6 separate regions of the Homo sapiens genome follow, and all the other regions are linked to region 6. Evidence: promoter capture Hi-C in 16 types of primary human blood cells and fetal thymus (Javierre and others, 2016). All regions are on one chromosome and are shown on one strand. The core of a region is centred on a gene start or on the middle of the fragment in contact, and the rest is flanking DNA. Distances in the headings are between cores, read along the strand shown.

Region 1 (2,946 bases), core at 414-2,913, 170 kb before region 6:
CTGGGCTCAAGCTATCCTCCCATCTCAGCCTCCTAAGTAGCTTGGATTACAGGCACACACCACCATGCCTGGTTAATTTTTGTTTTTCTTGAGACAGGGTCTCACTTTGTTACCCAGGCTGGAGTATAGTAGCACAATGTCGGCTCACTGTAGCCTCCACCTCCCAGGCTCAAGCCATCCTCCCACCTCAGCCCTCCAAGTAGCTGGGGGGCCACCATGCCTGGCTAATTTTTTGTAGTTTGGTAGAGATGGGGTTTCACCATGCTGCCCAGGATGGTCTCAAACGCTTGACCTCAAGCGATCCGCCCACCTCGGCCTCCCAAAGTGCTGGGATTACAGGCATGAGCCACCATGCCCAGCCAATTTTTCTATTTTTTGTAGAGATGGGGTTTTGCTATGTTGCCCAGGCTGGTCTCAAAGTCCTGAGCTCAAGCGATCCATCTGCCTCAGCCTCCCAAAGTGCTGGGTTTGCAGGCGTGAGCCACTGCACCTGGCCATGAACACTCTTATTATTTAGACACGTGTTTTAGACTAATATAACAAGGCTTTTTTTTTTCTTTAAGCCAAGACAAAGGTATGATAAATACAACATTTAAGAAGAGTAGAAGAGCAGTTCTAGGGAAGCCATGAGGGGAAGATGAAAGCTATACTGTCTAGGTCTCACATGGAATGGCAGGTTCAAGGGTATTCATCATCAACGTGATGCTTAAGTTATGATTATCAGATATCTAAACTTTTTTTAAAGGTAATAGAAAAAACTACAAGTATGCAGGGAGTGGTGGTGCGTGCCTGTAGTTCCGGCTACTCGGGAAGCTGAGGCAGGAGGATCGTTCAAGCCCAGGAGTTCTGGGTTGTAGTGTGCTATGCCCATCAGGTGTCCGCACTAAGTTTGGCATCAATATGGTGACTTCCTGGGAGCAGGGAACCACCAGGTTGCCTAAGGAGGGGTGAACCGGCCCAGGACAGAAACGGAGCAGGTCAAAAAATACAAGGAAGAGCAAGTAAAGAGAGGGCTTAGGACTCAGGAGTCCAGGGTCCAAGGTATGCCCTGTCACTAGACGTCTGTGTGCTTTGGACTGCTCACTTAACCTCGTGGCCTGGGATTTGGCCCAGATGAACTCTAAGACTCCTTCTAGATGGAGTGCCCTCTATCCTACTGCGAGAGCAGACATGCCTAACCGCCACACCCTTCAAAACAAGACCATCATCCTGGATTTGGCCGCTTGCAGGCCAGCAACTGGGCTACAGTTCAACAACTGTGCACTGAGTGCCAACCCTGGGCCAGGCCCTGAATCCGGCCCAACAAATGAGACCCAGTCCCAAGCCTCAAGGAACCAATTGTCCATAAAACAGCAAATAACCACAAGGTCGTGTGGTGTGTACAATGATGAGACAGAGAAGGTACAAAGAGACAAGGCACAGTTCACAATACACTGATTTGTACTTCTTTGTGTCAATTATTTTCCTAGGACTTCCCTCCCTCACATGGCTACAAAATAAACAGAAGGCCAGTCAGGGGAAGTAAACTGTCACCTGGTGGCTAAGAGCTCTCCACAGGCCAGCTCCTTCAAAACTCTGACTGGTCCAGGCACCTCCTTCATACAATGAGCTTCACCAGTTCCACCACCCAATGGTGTGTTCCAGGTGGAAAGGTAAATAGTAAAAGAAGGACCATTTCTCCTTATCCTCTGGAATTCTCTGTCCATTCAATTAATCATCTGATCATTATGTGAGTGTTTCCTAGGTAACAAGCACTGTTTCTGATGCTGAGTGGTGAACATAAAAGTCTCTGCTCCTCATGGAGCTTATGGTGCAGTCAAAATCAGTGTGGAAAAAAAAAATCAAGGAAGAGTCCTTGTTAGGATGTCAAATAATAAGGAGGGGAGTTACCCCATTTTAAGCTGGCAAGGCTCCAAGGGGTAGGTTTAGGGGGTTTTTTGTGTTATTTTCTTATTTTGGTATATAAACTGAGATAAGAAATATTTCACCTCCTGTTTTCACATGATTTAAAGAAAAAGCATAAAATTGCTTAAATCACCCTGCAATAAATAAAACCACCATTAATACGGACTAAAACAATTTTTCAGAATAAGAAATCAGTCAAATAAAACCCCACCATCTAAATATCTGCTACAGTGTTCAGACATCCGACGGTATTATGAAATCATCTGCATACAGGAAAACTTGGCCTACTAGGCAAACTCCAGGGCAAAGTCTGATTTGGAAACCATCAAGTGAGATGTAACCAGTACCTACACTCCAAGTTTGGTAGAGTAAACACACCATCTACAACAATGTCAATGTCAGAGTACAGGTGCCCACTAAGTAGGGCAGGGAGCCCCAGAAGATGTCTCAGAATGGGGCCACAGGAGCAGGTTAGCCCTGGATAAGCAGGTGTGCCTTTCCAGGCAGCAGGTGCAGCAGGCTAAGGAGAGGTGAGCCAGGTGCGTGGAGGAGGAGGTGGGGAACCATGGGGCATGGCCTGGGGAGGTGACTGGGGCCTTGTCACAAGAGCCAGATCACACCCAAACTACTCAGGGGGCAGCTATGCTGGCCCGAGGAGCTAGGCTCAGAATCTCACTTCTCCCCGCAGTTTTTTGCTCCTGTCCAGTTTATAGGTAAGGCATCTGTGCCACATTCTTTAAAATCCACTTTTCTGTGAAGGTTTTGGAGCCCCTAGAGATTTTTCCACAGGGGAATGACGACTGCTGTTGTGACTTAGAAGGCGAAGCAGATTATATTTTCCAAAAATGACCATAACAAGCAGTCCCATCCCACATGCTCCTCTTGCAGCGTGACTGTGACACTCCTCCCACTTGTGGTGGGGCGGGGGGGGGCTGTGTCCCCTCCGCCTTGGAACCGGAGGAGCTTTTGTAACTTTTTATCATCAGAGCCCAGCACAAATGATGCCCTATGACTTGTGAGCCCACAAGAGACAACGCGGCT
Region 2 (2,700 bases), core at 107-2,606, 130 kb before region 6:
GGGCCAGTGGCCACCATGCCCACCTCCACCACTTTCCTTTGAGGCCCCAGGAGGCTGGTACACACTCCAGGAGCCAGGAAGACCACTTGGCACCCTTAGCTCCTGGGACACTAGAACACATGGCCAAGTTATAAAGACTTCATATGCATCTTCTCATCTGGAGGTGAGGCCCTTTCAAAGCACACAGGGTGGAGAAACGTGGATAATATTTCACCCTCTATGTTAAAAAGAGGAGAAATGAAATATATTTGTATTTGCTTGTTATGCCTAAAGAAATGAGGACAGCAGGCCAGGCACGGTGGCTTATGCCTGTAATCCCAACATTTTGGAAGGTCAAGGTGGGCAGATCACTTGAGACCAGGAGTTTGAGCCGGGCCAACATGGTGAACCCCTATCTCTACTAAAAATACAAAAAAAAAAAAAAAAATTAGCTGGATGTGGTGGTGCACACCTGTAATCTCAGCTACTCAGGAGGCTGAGGCAGGAGAATTGCTTTAACCTGGGAGACAGAGGTTGTAGTGAGCCAAGATCATGCCACTGCACTCCAGCCTGGGCAACAGAGCAAGACTCTGTCGAAAAAGGGAAGAAAGAAAAGAGAAAAGAAAGAGAGGAGCAAAGGAGGAAAGGAAGAAAGAAAACCGAAAAAGAAAAAGTCCACATAAAAGCTTATCTCTGAAGATTTTTTTTTTTTTTTTTTTTGAGATGGAGTCTCGCTCTGTCGCCCAGGCTGGAGTGCAGTGGTGCAATCTCGGCTCACTGCAAGCTCCACCTCCCGGGTTCACGCCATTCTCCTGCCTCAGCCTCCCGAGTAGCTGGGACTACAGGTGCCCGCCACCATGCCCGGCTAATTTTTTGTATTTCTAGTAGAGACGGGGTTTCACCGTTGTTAGCCAGGATGGTCTCGATCTCTTGACCTCGTGATCCACCCGCCTCGGCCTCCCAAAATGCTGGGATTACAGGTGTAAGCCACCGCACCCGGCCCTATCTGTGAAGATTTATAACAGATTTACTCTCAACATCCAAAAACTGGAGGCAACCCAAATGTTCATCAACTGCTGAATGGTACGTCCATACCATGGAATACTATGGAATGCTCTACAGCAAGAAAAGGAAATATTAATACATGCAACATGAATGAATCAAATAAATCATGTTACACGAAAGAGGTCAAACACAAAAGACTCCATACTATCTGCTTCCATTTATTTACAATTATAGAAAAGGCAAAACCGCGGTGACAAAGCAGATCAGTGGTTGTCTAGGGATGGGGAACAAGGCTGTCTAGGAGGGGGAAAAGGGCCAAAGGGGCATGAAGGGACTTTTTAGGGTGAGGAAACTGTTCTATAACTCGATTGTGGTGGTGGCAACATGATTAGTACCAAAACTCAAACTGTACACTTAAAGCTGGTTAATTTTATTACTTGCAAATAATACCCTGATTAAAAACAAAAAAAAGAAGACCCTAGAAATCTTAGCTGTGGTTGGCAGGGGAGAGTGGAAGACACTGGGCATGTGAGAAGAGAAGGCAGTGTTTTATGTGTGTTGTGGTCTGAATGCTGGTACCCCCTCAAAATTCATATGCTGAAACATAATCCCCAATGCCAGAGTTAAGAGGTGAGGCCTTTAAGAGGTGATTAGATCATGAGGGCCCCACCTTCATGAATGACATTAATGCCCCTATAAGAGGCCCAGGGGAGCTGGCCAGCCCCTTCCACCATGTGAGGCGCTGTCTATGATGCAGAGAACAAGCCTTTGCCAAACACTGAGTCTGCCAAGACCTTGCTTACGGACTTCCCAGCCTTCAGAACTGTGAGTAATCAATTTCTGTTGTGTACAAATTATTCAGTTTAAGGTATTTGTTCCAGGAGCCCAAACAGACTAAGACAATGTATATATTTTTATTTTTGAAACCTGTGACTGAATTGCCTATTCCAAACTTGAGCTCTAATTCTTTCAAAGCCAACTGCAGAGGTGACTCTGTGCAATGGCTCAGGTAGAAGTGGTGTGGTCCATTGCTGGGTTCCTGTTGGTCAGGGATATAGGCACCAAAAGCTTAGAGGGTGGGGAGAATGAAAACCTCTGGATCTAACCAGAGCTGAATGTAGAAAACCATCTATCTCCTCTCCTCCCAGAAGCCAGTGCCTCCTGTCCTGGGCCTCTGGGCTCATGTGATAAAGACAAGAGCTACCATTTATTGGGCACTTACTATGTCCCAGGTGCTACGACTCATTTGACGTGCATTAACTCATTAACAGTGATAAGACCAACAACATGTACGGAGCCCTATATGTGCTAGGTATGACAGGCCTTCTTACCTGCTTGACCTCATTTAATTAGCCTCAAATCGATCCTATGACAAGGAACCAGTCCCAGAGAGTTAAGTGAAGCCCAAGGCTACACAGCTAAAAGTGTAAGGGAACAAAGATTTAAACCCAGGCAGTCTGGCCCCAGGAGCCCAGCTACCATCCATGACCAAGGACAACCCTTTTATTGGGACAGAGGCGACACTAATCACTGCACGCACTTAGGCTGAGGTGTGGTGGGTGGAGGATCAGACTCAGAGGTGAATCTGTGCTCCTGGCCTACTCCACCAGCTCCACAGCTCCGCCAGGAGGGTCTTTCACTCCCACACTGGGGAGGCAGAGCCAGATGCATGGAGCTATTCAAGGTCCTGCCTAGCTCCAAAGCCCTTACTCTTTG
Region 3 (2,700 bases), core at 83-2,582, 210 kb before region 6:
GCATGCCGGGCGAGAATACTTCTCCCTGCCTGCTCCCTGGTCTGTCAGACCACTCACCATCTTCACTGGACTTCTCTCTCTAAGGGCTGGTCCACCCACTTCATCAGTGGCTCCCTGGCTGGGCAATGTGGCTCACACCTGTAATCCTAGCAATTTGGGAAGCTGAAGTGGGAGGACTGCTTGAACCTAGGAGTTCGAGGCCAGCCTGGGCAACAAAATGAGGCCCCCATCTCTACAAAAAAAAAAAAAAAAGGAGAGAGAAAAAGTCAAAAAAATTAGCTGGGGCTGGGCGCAGTGGCTCATGCCTATAATCCTGACATTTTGGGAAGCCAAGGCAGGAGGATCATTTGAGGTCAGGAGTTCAAGACCAGCCTGGCCAACGTGGTGAAACCCTGTCTGCACTGAAAATACAAAGACTAGCTGGGAGCGATGGCGTACACCCGTAATCCCAGCTACTTGGGAGGCTGAGGCAGGAGAATCTGCTTGAACCCAGGAGACAGAGGTTGCAGTGAGCTGAGATCGTGCCACTGCACTCCAACCTGGACAACAGAGTGAGACTCTGTCTCAAAAAAAAAAAAAAAAAAAATTAGCTGGGCATGGTGATACATGCCTATGGTCTTGTGCAGGGGGCCATGTTCGCATCACTGCACTACAGCCTGGGCGACAGAGCAAGATGCTCCCAAGGACAGCACCTGGACGCCATGCTGTGACCAGCAGTTCCAGGCACAGAATGAGCCCTTCAAGGATGAATTTGATCGGCCTCAGGGCTGTATCACCATCTATATGCTGGGACATCTGCAGCCACATCCCCAGCCTAAACCTCTCTCCTGGAACTCCACATGGTACATCCACAGCCTACCTGGTATCTCCACTTTGATCTAATGGGCCTCTCAAGCTTAAAGTGTCCCTATGCCTGCTCCTCCCCGAGTCCTCCTCACCTCAATCAACAGTGGCTCAGGTCCGAAGCCTTGTAATCACCCTTCACACCCCACCTCCTCTTCTTCCATCCCCACCTACCTGCAGAGGCCGCTGGCTCTACTTTTAAAAGTGACCTCAAATCTCACCACTTCTCACCATTTCAACTCTAGTCTGTGGTCTGAAGGAGGGCAAAATATAATCTCTACCTAATTTCCATTTAAAGCCAGGAAAGGGACATGATTATAAAACTGTTGTCTAGTCTCTTATAAGTCAGTATTAAACTTTTTAAGTATATGACAATGTCTGTGCCATTCAACATTTCACGTGTGTTACTTCTTTTATCCCCCCAATAAATAACCCTGTGCTAACTTTTATTACCCTCAGCCTGGCCTTCAAGACCCTGCCAGACCTGCCCTGGCCATGCCTCCTCCCTCATCTCCGCCCCCACTGCCCTCCCCTCACTGCCTTCTCCACCTCTGGCCTTCTGCCAGCTCCATCCTGGTGAGCTCATCACCCAGGGCCTCAGCACCCAGCAGGCTCTTCCCCAGACCTGGACCTTTTCATCCTCCAGTTCCCACTTGTGGGAGAGCCTTCCCTGCCTGCCCGTCCTCTCCCTCCCTCCCACTGTCCTCTTTATTTTCTTCAGGAAGCATTCTGTTGAGTAAAGAAACACTACTATTTCCGTTTTACAGATGACAAAACTAAAAGACCAGCGACAATAAGTGATTTGTCAAAGTCCCATTGACACAGGGAGCTGTGCTGGTTTGAAGCCCACACTGGCTGACTCCTGATCATTTTTCCTGCTTTGACTTCCCAGAAGCCTTGCCCCATCTCCAAAGAGAGCATCAGGGTGAAGCTTCAAGACAACCCTGGTTCTGTGGTCTCCAAATAAACCTAAAGCAGGCTGTGTTCCTCTACCATTCTCCAAGGCAGTGACTACTGCAATTCATCATGGAAACACTGGGCCAGTTTAAGGATTCCCACTCTTAAAAAATAGAGGTATAACTCCTACATGCCCTTAAAACCCAGCTCAGACATCACCTCCTTCAGGAAGTCCTCCTGGAGTTGACCATGGCCTCTTCTGTGCTACCGTCCCACCCTGAACAGACTTTGCACTGGCTGTATGAATCACATCATACAGTTACCAGTTACCCAATGTGTCTCCTATGCTAGACCTGGTGATCAGACACCCAGGGCAGGGACTAATGTCAACTTAGTTATTTACAGCCTTGGGCGAGGTGACGGAAAGAGAGAGGAGAGTTGTGTATCTGACAGAGCTGCGTTCGTAGATCCCTTACCACAGAGACCCTCCCAGCCCTCAGGATCCCCATCATATGCGCACCCTGTACACTGCCCTCCGCAGGACTGAATGCAATTATAATAGAACAGTTGTTTTTGAACAACATCCCTCTCCCGTTAGACTGGAAGATCCATGAAGGCAGGGGGCCTTTGGTCCGCTGCTCTATCTCTCATGCTTGTGGGTGGCACTCTTCAAACGTCTGCTGCATGATTGGAATAACAGATGGAACGATGAGAAGAATGGGGAGGACAAGAGAAGAAAGGAGAGGAGGGCAGGGAACAAACGGAAGGAAAGCTGAATGGGCTGCCAGCTGCCCAAGTCCAAGGTCCCCGTGCTCTGCAGCAGGTACCTACGGCAGCCCGCGTGTGCCTGCTGTGCCTGCTGCATCCCCGGGGCATGAGCTCACCTATAGGAGTCCCCATCTCTGTTGTAGTCACACAAAAGGTAATCCTTTCCCACCACCTTGTCTCTGGCAATTTTCA
Region 4 (2,700 bases), core at 88-2,587, 190 kb before region 6:
ATTTGTGGCCATATCGACATGTGGCCAGGCACTGTGTTAGGGTCTGGGGATAGAGGTGAGCATCATGGCATCCCGCAGGTGCTCGGAAGCCAGAGGGCCCTCCAGTGCTAAGAGTACAGTTACAGCACACAGCAGTGCTTTCAGTGCGTTAGATAAAACGTGGAGATTTGGCTGCCCCTACAGGCAGCGTTTGGGACTAGGAAGGTCAATGAGACAGGAAAACAATGCGGGCGAAGAAGTATTAAGCCTCTTTAAAACACCTGATGTACATATCTCCTCTACTCCCAACTGATGTTCAACACATAGCTAGAAAGAGGCAAAAAAAAAAAAAAAAAAAAAAAATCCCCTTGTATGAAGGATAATCCTTTCAGCCTGGGGCAAATCTCCTGAAGAGTTTTGTTCTGAACTAGGAGTGTTGTTTTAGCTTCCAGTCAATAGTAATTAAGAGTCCCAATATATTCCAGAAAGAGGGAGAGGGAGATTAACGATCATTAAATCTCTTCTGCATTTGGCTCCAAATCTCTTTTCGGAGGGGCCGGCTGTCAGATGATCCCTCCAAAGCGTCCATCTGACAGCACTCCCGCCGCCACCATCTGGAACATCAATTCGAGAGCTCGCCTGAAGGTTTCAATTACATAAAAGGCAATGGGCCCATTAGGACCCGAGAGTCTGGAGCTTCACAAGCGCTGCTCACACCCCCTCTCCTGTACACAAAGCCTCTAGAATTTGGTTGGCAGTCATTTGCAAAGGGACTCATTTTGGTGGGGGCATGGGGCTGGCCAGCCCCTTGGCAAGGCCTCTCTCAGGCAGGCTCTGTGCGTGCTATGACTGACAGGGTCTCTAATGAACCTTAATTGTGAGCTCGACAGGCCCAGGAAGGCAGCCACAGATGTGGCAAAGGGCAACCGCAAACCGTCTGATTAGTGAATAAGAAGTGTCCGGCCCAGTGAGGGCCAATGACCCAAAAAAGGAGGAGGGCGGGACTATTCCTCCCCCACGCATCCCTTCTAAAGCTCTGAAGCTTCTTTATGTAAGCAATGCAAAGCCTCTGGGTGCACTGGAACCCAACGCACCCCTCCCCCCGGCACTACTGCTTGGCAGCTGGCAGCTGGGATGTTGGGGTCTTGTGCTTGTTACCACGGATGCTTCCGTCTCCATCAGCAGTGCACCTTTAACCACAGGAGGCCAGAACAGAACGCCCTTTCAACGTGGGAAGGGGGAAGCTACCCACTACGGAGACTGAGTAACTTCTTGCCGGTGCTAAGAATTGTGAAGACAGCTGCATTCAGAGTCAGCCATCCTCTGGTGACCTGCAGTGACAAGGAGAAAGCTACTCCTGGGGCAGCTTTGGGCACAAACAGCGTGACGGAGAAGACAGGCTTTGCAGACGGGTAGATCCCAACTCTGCTCCTTACTAATTAGCTGTGAGGCTTGGACCAACTCATGAAACCTCACTTGGTTTCCTCATCTGTAAAATGGGCATAAAAGATCAACCTTGTGGTGTGCAGTTTAAATAAGCAAAGGGTCTGGAACAGTACCTGGCACACGATAGTCATCTCTTAAAACCCGGGAGAACAGCAGAGTATTTTGCGCAAGTTTGACATGACCTCAGAACTCCATGCAGACAGCTACTACAAGCCAGGTACTATGCTAGAAGCTTTACACCCCCCATCTCTCATTCTTGAAGTTAGTGTCATGCCCATCTCACAGATGAGGAAACTGAGGCTCAGTGGTCACACAGCTAAGACGTGGTAAAGACAAGAGCTGAACAGGATTGTGCCTTTCGATTTCAAGGCACTCCACTATCAACTTCAATGCTCCTAACCAAGCATTTCAGGCATCCTCAGACTAACAGCCTAGAAACACCTAACCAAGAATTTTGTAGAATTTGAATTCCCAAATACACCAAAACAGGCTTCTCTGGCCTGGCATATAAAGGTGTGGTAGGGGGCACTAAATGGCCAATCTGTTTCCAAGGAAGTCTGCAAAACAAATGAGGACTCCACTTCCAGCCTTGGTCTGCTTCTTGGCTAGTGGCACCTCACAAGCATTTTCTGCATCAGGGTCATGAATAGGTAGCAGCAGGTGAGCTGCTAAAATAGCCTCCCCACCAGAAAGCAGTCCCAGGAGAGGCCCAGAGATACAGAACAGAGGCCCATCACTGGGAGGTTGTGTAGGACCCTCACACATAGACTGGGGGGCTCTCAAGCTGGGGAAAAGGGTACCTGGGGGGAGACTAGAGATGTAGGTTCAAGAAGGGGACAAGAGATTCAGAGGAAAGAGGAGCAAGAGGTGAGCAGTGCTGATAAGGAAGAGGGTAAATGGCAAGGAAGCTGGGAAACCGACAGAAAGGATCCTGAGGACCCAGGTTTCACAGGTGACCTGGCACCTCTGGAAGGCTGAGGATTGAGGGGTCTGATGACCTGGGAGGCTGCAAGGCTGGCTTGTCCTTGGACACTGAGATCAACCTAAGACTCCTTCCTGCCGCCTTAGACCATCCAGCCACGCTCTTGTCTAGCTTTCTCTCCCAGGGCTTCCGAAGACTTTCCCAATGATAACCGGGGTCAGCTCCTCATTCAGGGAGCAGAAGCAGGAAGAAAAGTGCCTAGCAAGCAATCAGGAAGAGGAGGGGGAGAGACCCTCACCAGGGCGGACTGTGCAGCTGGTGTCAGATGACCCTTATCTCTGCAGAATGGAAAC
Region 5 (2,700 bases), core at 21-2,520, 230 kb before region 6:
AACCCGGGAGGCAGAGGTTATAGTGCCTTGAGATGGCGCCACTGCACTCCAGCCTGAGCAAAAAGAGCGAGACTCCATCTCAAAAGAAACAACAACAACAAACAAACAGAAACTCCCAAGCTCCATGACTGATTTTATGGCAAAGAGGAAGAGAATAAAACCCAGAGGCAGAGCCATTCCCCGGCAGCTGAGGTTCTGGCCCTAAAACAATGCCTTTTTGTTCCCTCCTAGGGTAAAAAAGAAACTAAAATCCCCAGCTATCAGCAGTAGTTTGTTTTTCTGATCATCCTTAACATCCTTACAACAAAACAGGCACCTGGTCTTCACAGGTGGGAACAATCCAACTCCACCTCAGGAAAAAGAGAAAACTGTCCATTCTGCTCAGAGGGGCATCCAAAACCTGGCTCCCTTCCTCGTGGTGTAGACCAACGTTCCTTTTTGCTCTGCTGGCTGCCATCTAGCCAACTTCAAAAAGAAGCTGAGCGCATCCCCTGTCCAATGGATGGGCGTGGGTGCTGCCCAGTGGGCACAATGTTGCAAAGTCCAGAGAGCTGCAGACGGCACACGAGGGGCTGGAGAGTGTGGGTTCTCTTCCTTACACTGGTTATACCAGCCTGCACTCAAGATGCATCTGGCAAACAAGCATGAGGAGATATAAGGAAGATCACAAGAAAAAAATGAACGGGCAAGCACTTGCCATGGCACCTGGCAGAGCAAGCACTCAACAAGTGGTGGCTGCTGGTTTTCATCAGGCTCTTACTTTCTGAACAGAGGGGAGGAGAAGGCAACCTCGACGTGTTGTGAGCTGCCCTGGAAGTGTCCGTCAGAAACACAAAGTGCCGCTTACTGGGAGCGGTTCCGTACCCACTGGCACAGGCTCCACACAAAATGGAGAAAGATCAATGCTTGGCTTTGGGCGGGCCATGTCCAGAGCTGATGCTGAAACTCAACCACCCTTGTTTGTGTGTTGAGACCAGCTGTTTTCACCATGGTTTAGGGAACACGGCCCAGAGGCTGCCCATGGACACGGGACAGGTATTCAGCGGAAATTCCTTCCAGTACACACAGGTGCAACAATCCCCCGAGTCAACATACCAATCAGCTTAGGCATGTGCGACTTTAATGCCAGCTGCACTTAGAAGGCACATCTGGACTGTGGCTGCCGCGCTTTAGTGTCTCGCTTTTACGAGGCTTTTATTTTTTTACTTAAAGAAATAATGAAGGCCTCTCTGGAAACAATGGTGCCGCTGCAGGGGCCGGCTATCTGGCTCTGGGATCTGGTTTTGGGATCTGGCCAAACTGTCCACACTTGGCACCACTGCGACTGTCTTCTGCCCTCTGGACTACTTGTGAAAACACTGCTGGCCCCATGGAGCTACCTCATGAGCCGTCAACAGTCAGGGCTTTCTGGGCTTCCAAGTCATCACTCTCATCCAAAGCTGCCATTGTTGAGAACTCATTCTGTGTCAGGGGCTTTGCATATCTTTTTTTTACAGTTAAGAAAACTGTAACCCAGAGAGATAAGGAACGTGCCCAAGTCACAGGCTGAGAAGCAGGGATCTGGGAGTAGATGTCAGGCTTGGCTGGCCCCAGTGCCCATATTCTGCCCCATGCCAGGCTGCCTGGCCATCCTGAGACGTGCCAGCTGTGGTGGGATGGAGCGCAGGCGGACAGAACAGGGTCAGCCAGTAGGTTAGATGCCCGTATGAAGCCACACCACTGAACACACAGCTGCCCCAAAGAGGAGAAAGTCAGGCCAAGTGCAGTGGCTCATGCCTGTAATCCCCAGCACTTTGGGAGGCCAAGATGGGAGGATCACTTGAGGCCAGGAGTTTGAGACCAGCCTGGGCAACAGAGTGAGAGCCCCCGTCTCCATTTTTTTTCTTGGAAAAAAAAAAAAAAAAAAACGGTGGAGAGAGTCCGAGTTAAAAAAGGAACCCGCTGGGTGACCAGGAATCCGGGACATGCCCCGAGCACCCTGTACTGGGGATTTTGGAGGGTTCTCTGCCTCACTGAGGCAGCTGGGGCTGCTGGCTGGGTCACTGCAAGAATGCCTTTTTTTTTTTTTTTTTTAATTAGACATGGGGTCTCTCTCTGTCACCCAGGCAGAAGTGTGGTGGTGGGACCATAGTTCACTGCAGCCTCCACCTTCTGGGCTCAAGTGATGCTCCCACCTCAGCCCCCAGACACTGAGATTACAGGTGTGAGCCACTGTGCCCCACCGCACCTATTCTTGATACTTGCACAAAGCAGTTTTCCATCACAGAAGCCTCGGAAACATCTCAGTGAGGGGAGTGCAGGGTCTCTGGCAGGATGGGGGAGCTTGACCAAGGGAGGGAGCTGGTCCCTGCTTCCAGCAGCAGAGTTTCACTCCAACATGTGCAACGGCCCAAACCAAAGAGTGACTGTGTGCCATCTGGTTAGAGGAACCCAAGAATTCTAGAGGCATCAGAGTCCCTGATGCTGACGTGGGGATCATGTTCATAAGCAAACTTGTTTTCTGCACACTCCTGTTTTCCATTTAACTTTCTTTCAGCAGATGAAAATCAGACTGCACATGCCAAGCAACCAGACACTGGCCTGCAGCCTTGGGATGCCAGATGAAAGGGAACCCCAGGACAGGGGGCAACATGCAAGCCTGTCTAGATCCACTCTTTAGGGACTTGATAACTGTAGCAGACACCCCCACTAGGAGCAGTG
Region 6 (2,807 bases), core at 302-2,801:
AAGGGGAAGGCAGCTCTAAGCTCTATCTGACTAGGCTTCCTAGAATCAGTGCAGTGTTGAAGCTTGGATAGATCCAGTGTATGAATGGGAGTCATTGACAGCTTTTTTTTTTTTTCTTTTGTGATAGGGTATCACTCTGATGCCCAGGCTGGAGTGCAGTGGCATGAACATGGCTCAGTGTAGCCTCCACTTCCCAGGCTCAAGTGATCCTCCTACCTCAGCCTCCTAAGTAGCTGGGACTAAAGGCACACATCACATTAGCCTGGCTAATTTTTTAAATTTTTTGTAGAGACAGGAGTCTCACTATGCTGCCTAGGCTGGTCTTGAACTACTGGCCTCAAACAATCCTCCCGCCTCAGCCTCCCAGAGTGTTGGGATTACAGGTGTGAGCCACTGCTCTCGGCCTTCATTGACAGCTTCTAATCAGAGGCATAACGTGGTCAGATTTCTATTTGTTGGTAGGATGGAAGACTAAAATCAATGACACTAGCCAGTAGGCTGGATATACAATCTCTCTTGATAGCTGTGGGCATTTGGTTTCAGGATCTCGCAGTTACCAAAATGCAGGATGCTCAAGTCCCATATATAAAATGGCGTGGTATTTGCATACAACCTACACACATGCTTACATATCCTTTTTTAAAATTACTTATTTTTTTTTAAAGAGATGAAGTCGAACTCCTAGTCTCAAGCAATCCTCCCATCTCAGCCTCCCAAGTAGCTGGGACTACGGTCGCATGCCACTGCGCTGGCTCCCATATACTTTAAATCATCTCTAGGTTACTTATAATACCTAATACAATGTAAATCCTAGGTAAATAGTTGTACTGTATTTTAAATTTTGCATTATTTTTTATTTGATTCAAAAATGTTTCTGGTCCATGGTTGGTTAAATCCATGGATGCAAAACCCACAGATACAGAGGGCACCCTGTGTATGTATGTGTATGTGTGTGTGTGTGTGGGTGGGTGTGTAAATATATACATGGATAGGAGGCCTGAGGTAGACGTTTTACCTGGAGATATAATTTGGCAGTGTTTGCAATTACTCAGGGAGAGTCTGTACAGTGAAAAGAGAATTGATGGAAGCTTGCGAACCAACAGTCCTTAAACAGCTGGCAGAGAAAAGGCAGCCCTGGAGGAAACCAACAGACAACAGCAGATGGGGAGAAGAGGAAAGAGTGGCGTTACCGGGAGTGAAACGAATAGAGGAGCCAGGGAGGATCAGAGGGAGGGAAAATTGTGTGGAATGCGGTACAGAGGTCAGAAAAGAGTCCATTTGATTTGGCGGTAGGTAATCTTTCCCAGAGCAGTTTCGGTGTTAGTGGTTCAGGCGGGAATTCCAATGCAAGAAACCAGTGAACGAATGAGAGAGTGAGTAGGGAAAGTGAAGGTGAGTACGTTAATGAATGAATAAATCAAGTCTGTACCCTCTCTTGCCCGGGGGATTTCCAGGGCCAATGTCGCACTTTGGTGAGGAGGAAAGGCCTGGTCACGGCTTGGGGTGACGCCTAGGAAACTGTCAGCCTCGCAAACCCATAGGCGCAGCCCCAAGGTCAGGGTCACCTCGAGCCTCCAGACAACTCGTCACCTTGACGACCAACTGAAAAAACCGGAAGGGATGGAAGCAGCGGATCATCTCGCGATATCTGGAGCGTCTGCGCCTGCCTTCCTGACCTGGGACTTGTTTCCAGCTCTCGCGAGACTTTCAGGGGTCGGAGCGCGGGGGCCGGCCGAGAGGAAAGCTGGAGGCGCGGGTGGGGAACATGTCTGAGTCGGAGCTCGGCAGGAAGTGGGACCGGTGTCTGGCGGATGCGGTCGTGAAGATAGGTAAGGGGCTTTTCGCCCCAGCAGGCCCGGCCGGTGCAGAGCTGCTGGCTCCAGGCTGCGCTGCCCAGGAGGAAGGAAGGGAAGCCCCACGGGAGGTCAGGCCTCTCGGCCTTTTCCGGCCCCTCCGGCCAGGGCGAGCCGCCCGGGCCCCGGCGGGAGGTCACTCGGGCGGCGGGCACAGACCCGAGGAGCCGGAGCAGCAGCCCGGGTGCGGGGTGGAGTTGCAGCCCGGAGGAGGTGGTCGGGGTTGGCAGGTGGCAGGAGAGTCGCAGAGCTCTTGAGTGGAAGACAGTGTCGGGGCACACCCTCGTGCCGGAGCCGCGGGGTTCTCCTCCCGGGTGGTGCATTCCCCGGCACGCGGCGGGGAACCGGCTCAGGAGGCCACGCTGCTCCCCGGCGGAAACCAAAGTGCCTTCTGGAGAAGGTCACCTGGAGCATTTCATAGACACCGCCAGGCCCTGATGCGAGTTGCTGTCATTCCCGACTTGCCACCTGATTTATTTGAATCAGAGTAGTCTGGGGCCTGAACTTAGAGGGGTGATGATCTGGAATGAGAATTGCGCTGGAAAGTAAGAAGTTGTTCACGTTAAGTTTTTCTGCGTAGTCCTTTAACACGTGCTCAGTGACGGCACAAATTATGAAGTCACTGTATGGTGGGGAGGAGAAAGGAAACTCGTTTATTGAGCGTATATTGTCTTCATTGTGCGAAATAATCTTTTTACAGGCCGTGAAATGGAGAGTCAGGTGAAGGAATTTGCCCACGGTCACAGCTAACAAATGGCAAAATTAGGGATTTTACCCAGCTTTTCTGGGGTCAAGTCCCATGTTCCTTCTTCGATGCTAATTTTTGTTACCCAAATGTGATATTTTTGTGTGGTAATCTTAGGGTATTTAAGAGGATTTAGGATTGTGTCTTTGAATGAAAACATTGAGGAATAAGATTGTAAGCTCCATGAGAGCAGGGATGTTTTCTGGTTT

What was found. Contacts are between HindIII fragments. The CHiCAGO score rates a contact against its expected background, and 5 or more counts as called.
Region 1: a contact is called between a fragment that was not itself captured here and the fragment with the promoter of MICOS10-DT in region 6, in 13 of 17 cell types (naive CD8 T cells, non-activated CD4 T cells, activated CD4 T cells and 10 more). The highest score is 14.8, in naive CD8 T cells.
Region 2: a contact is called between a fragment that was not itself captured here and the fragment with the promoter of MICOS10-DT in region 6, in 1 of 17 cell types (naive CD4 T cells). The highest score is 6.3, in naive CD4 T cells.
Region 3: a contact is called between a fragment that was not itself captured here and the fragment with the promoter of MICOS10-DT in region 6, in 15 of 17 cell types (naive CD8 T cells, activated CD4 T cells, naive B cells and 12 more). The highest score is 14.1, in naive CD8 T cells.
Region 4: a contact is called between a fragment that was not itself captured here and the fragment with the promoter of MICOS10-DT in region 6, in 10 of 17 cell types (fetal thymus, naive CD8 T cells, non-activated CD4 T cells and 7 more). The highest score is 10.7, in fetal thymus.
Region 5: a contact is called between a fragment that was not itself captured here and the fragment with the promoter of MICOS10-DT in region 6, in 10 of 17 cell types (naive CD8 T cells, total CD8 T cells, non-activated CD4 T cells and 7 more). The highest score is 8.5, in naive CD8 T cells.

The regions. Positions count from the first base shown.
Region 1 is chr1:19,423,616-19,426,561 of GRCh38, forward strand. All of the region lies in intron 1 of CAPZB (capping actin protein of muscle Z-line subunit beta), which reads right to left. It also overlaps the pseudogene RN7SL277P. Among named protein-coding and RNA genes, the nearest start is that of CAPZB, 60 kb to the right of the region's middle. The HindIII fragment of the contact is 4,048 bases long and covers 1-2,946 here.
Region 2 is chr1:19,463,611-19,466,310 of GRCh38, forward strand. All of the region lies in intron 1 of CAPZB (capping actin protein of muscle Z-line subunit beta), which reads right to left. Among named protein-coding and RNA genes, the nearest start is that of CAPZB, 21 kb to the right of the region's middle. The HindIII fragment of the contact is 1,387 bases long and covers 664-2,050 here.
Region 3 is chr1:19,382,881-19,385,580 of GRCh38, forward strand. It overlaps CAPZB (capping actin protein of muscle Z-line subunit beta), which reads right to left. Exons shown (of 9, transcript NM_004930.5): 3 at 2,625-2,700. Among named protein-coding and RNA genes, the nearest start is that of SLC66A1, 72 kb to the left of the region's middle. The HindIII fragment of the contact is 879 bases long and covers 894-1,772 here.
Region 4 is chr1:19,405,224-19,407,923 of GRCh38, forward strand. The region is part of intron 2 of CAPZB (capping actin protein of muscle Z-line subunit beta); the gene reads right to left. Among named protein-coding and RNA genes, the nearest start is that of CAPZB, 79 kb to the right of the region's middle. The HindIII fragment of the contact is 636 bases long and covers 1,020-1,655 here.
Region 5 is chr1:19,366,608-19,369,307 of GRCh38, forward strand. The region is part of intron 4 of CAPZB (capping actin protein of muscle Z-line subunit beta); the gene reads right to left. Among named protein-coding and RNA genes, the nearest start is that of SLC66A1, 56 kb to the left of the region's middle. The HindIII fragment of the contact is 8,481 bases long and covers 1-2,700 here.
Region 6 is chr1:19,595,281-19,598,087 of GRCh38, forward strand. It overlaps MICOS10-DT (MICOS10 divergent transcript), which reads right to left and starts at 1,552. Exons shown (of 2, transcript NR_135054.1): 1 at 1,430-1,552. It overlaps MICOS10-NBL1 (MICOS10-NBL1 readthrough), which reads left to right and starts at 1,699. Exons shown (of 4, transcript NM_001204089.2): 1 at 1,699-1,829. MICOS10 (mitochondrial contact site and cristae organizing system subunit 10) reads left to right here and starts at 1,699. Exons shown (of 4, transcript NM_001032363.4): 1 at 1,699-1,829. The coding sequence starts at 1,766. RefSeq lists an enhancer at 1,492-1,791 and a silencer at 1,912-2,121. The HindIII fragment of the contact is 2,967 bases long and covers 1,087-2,807 here.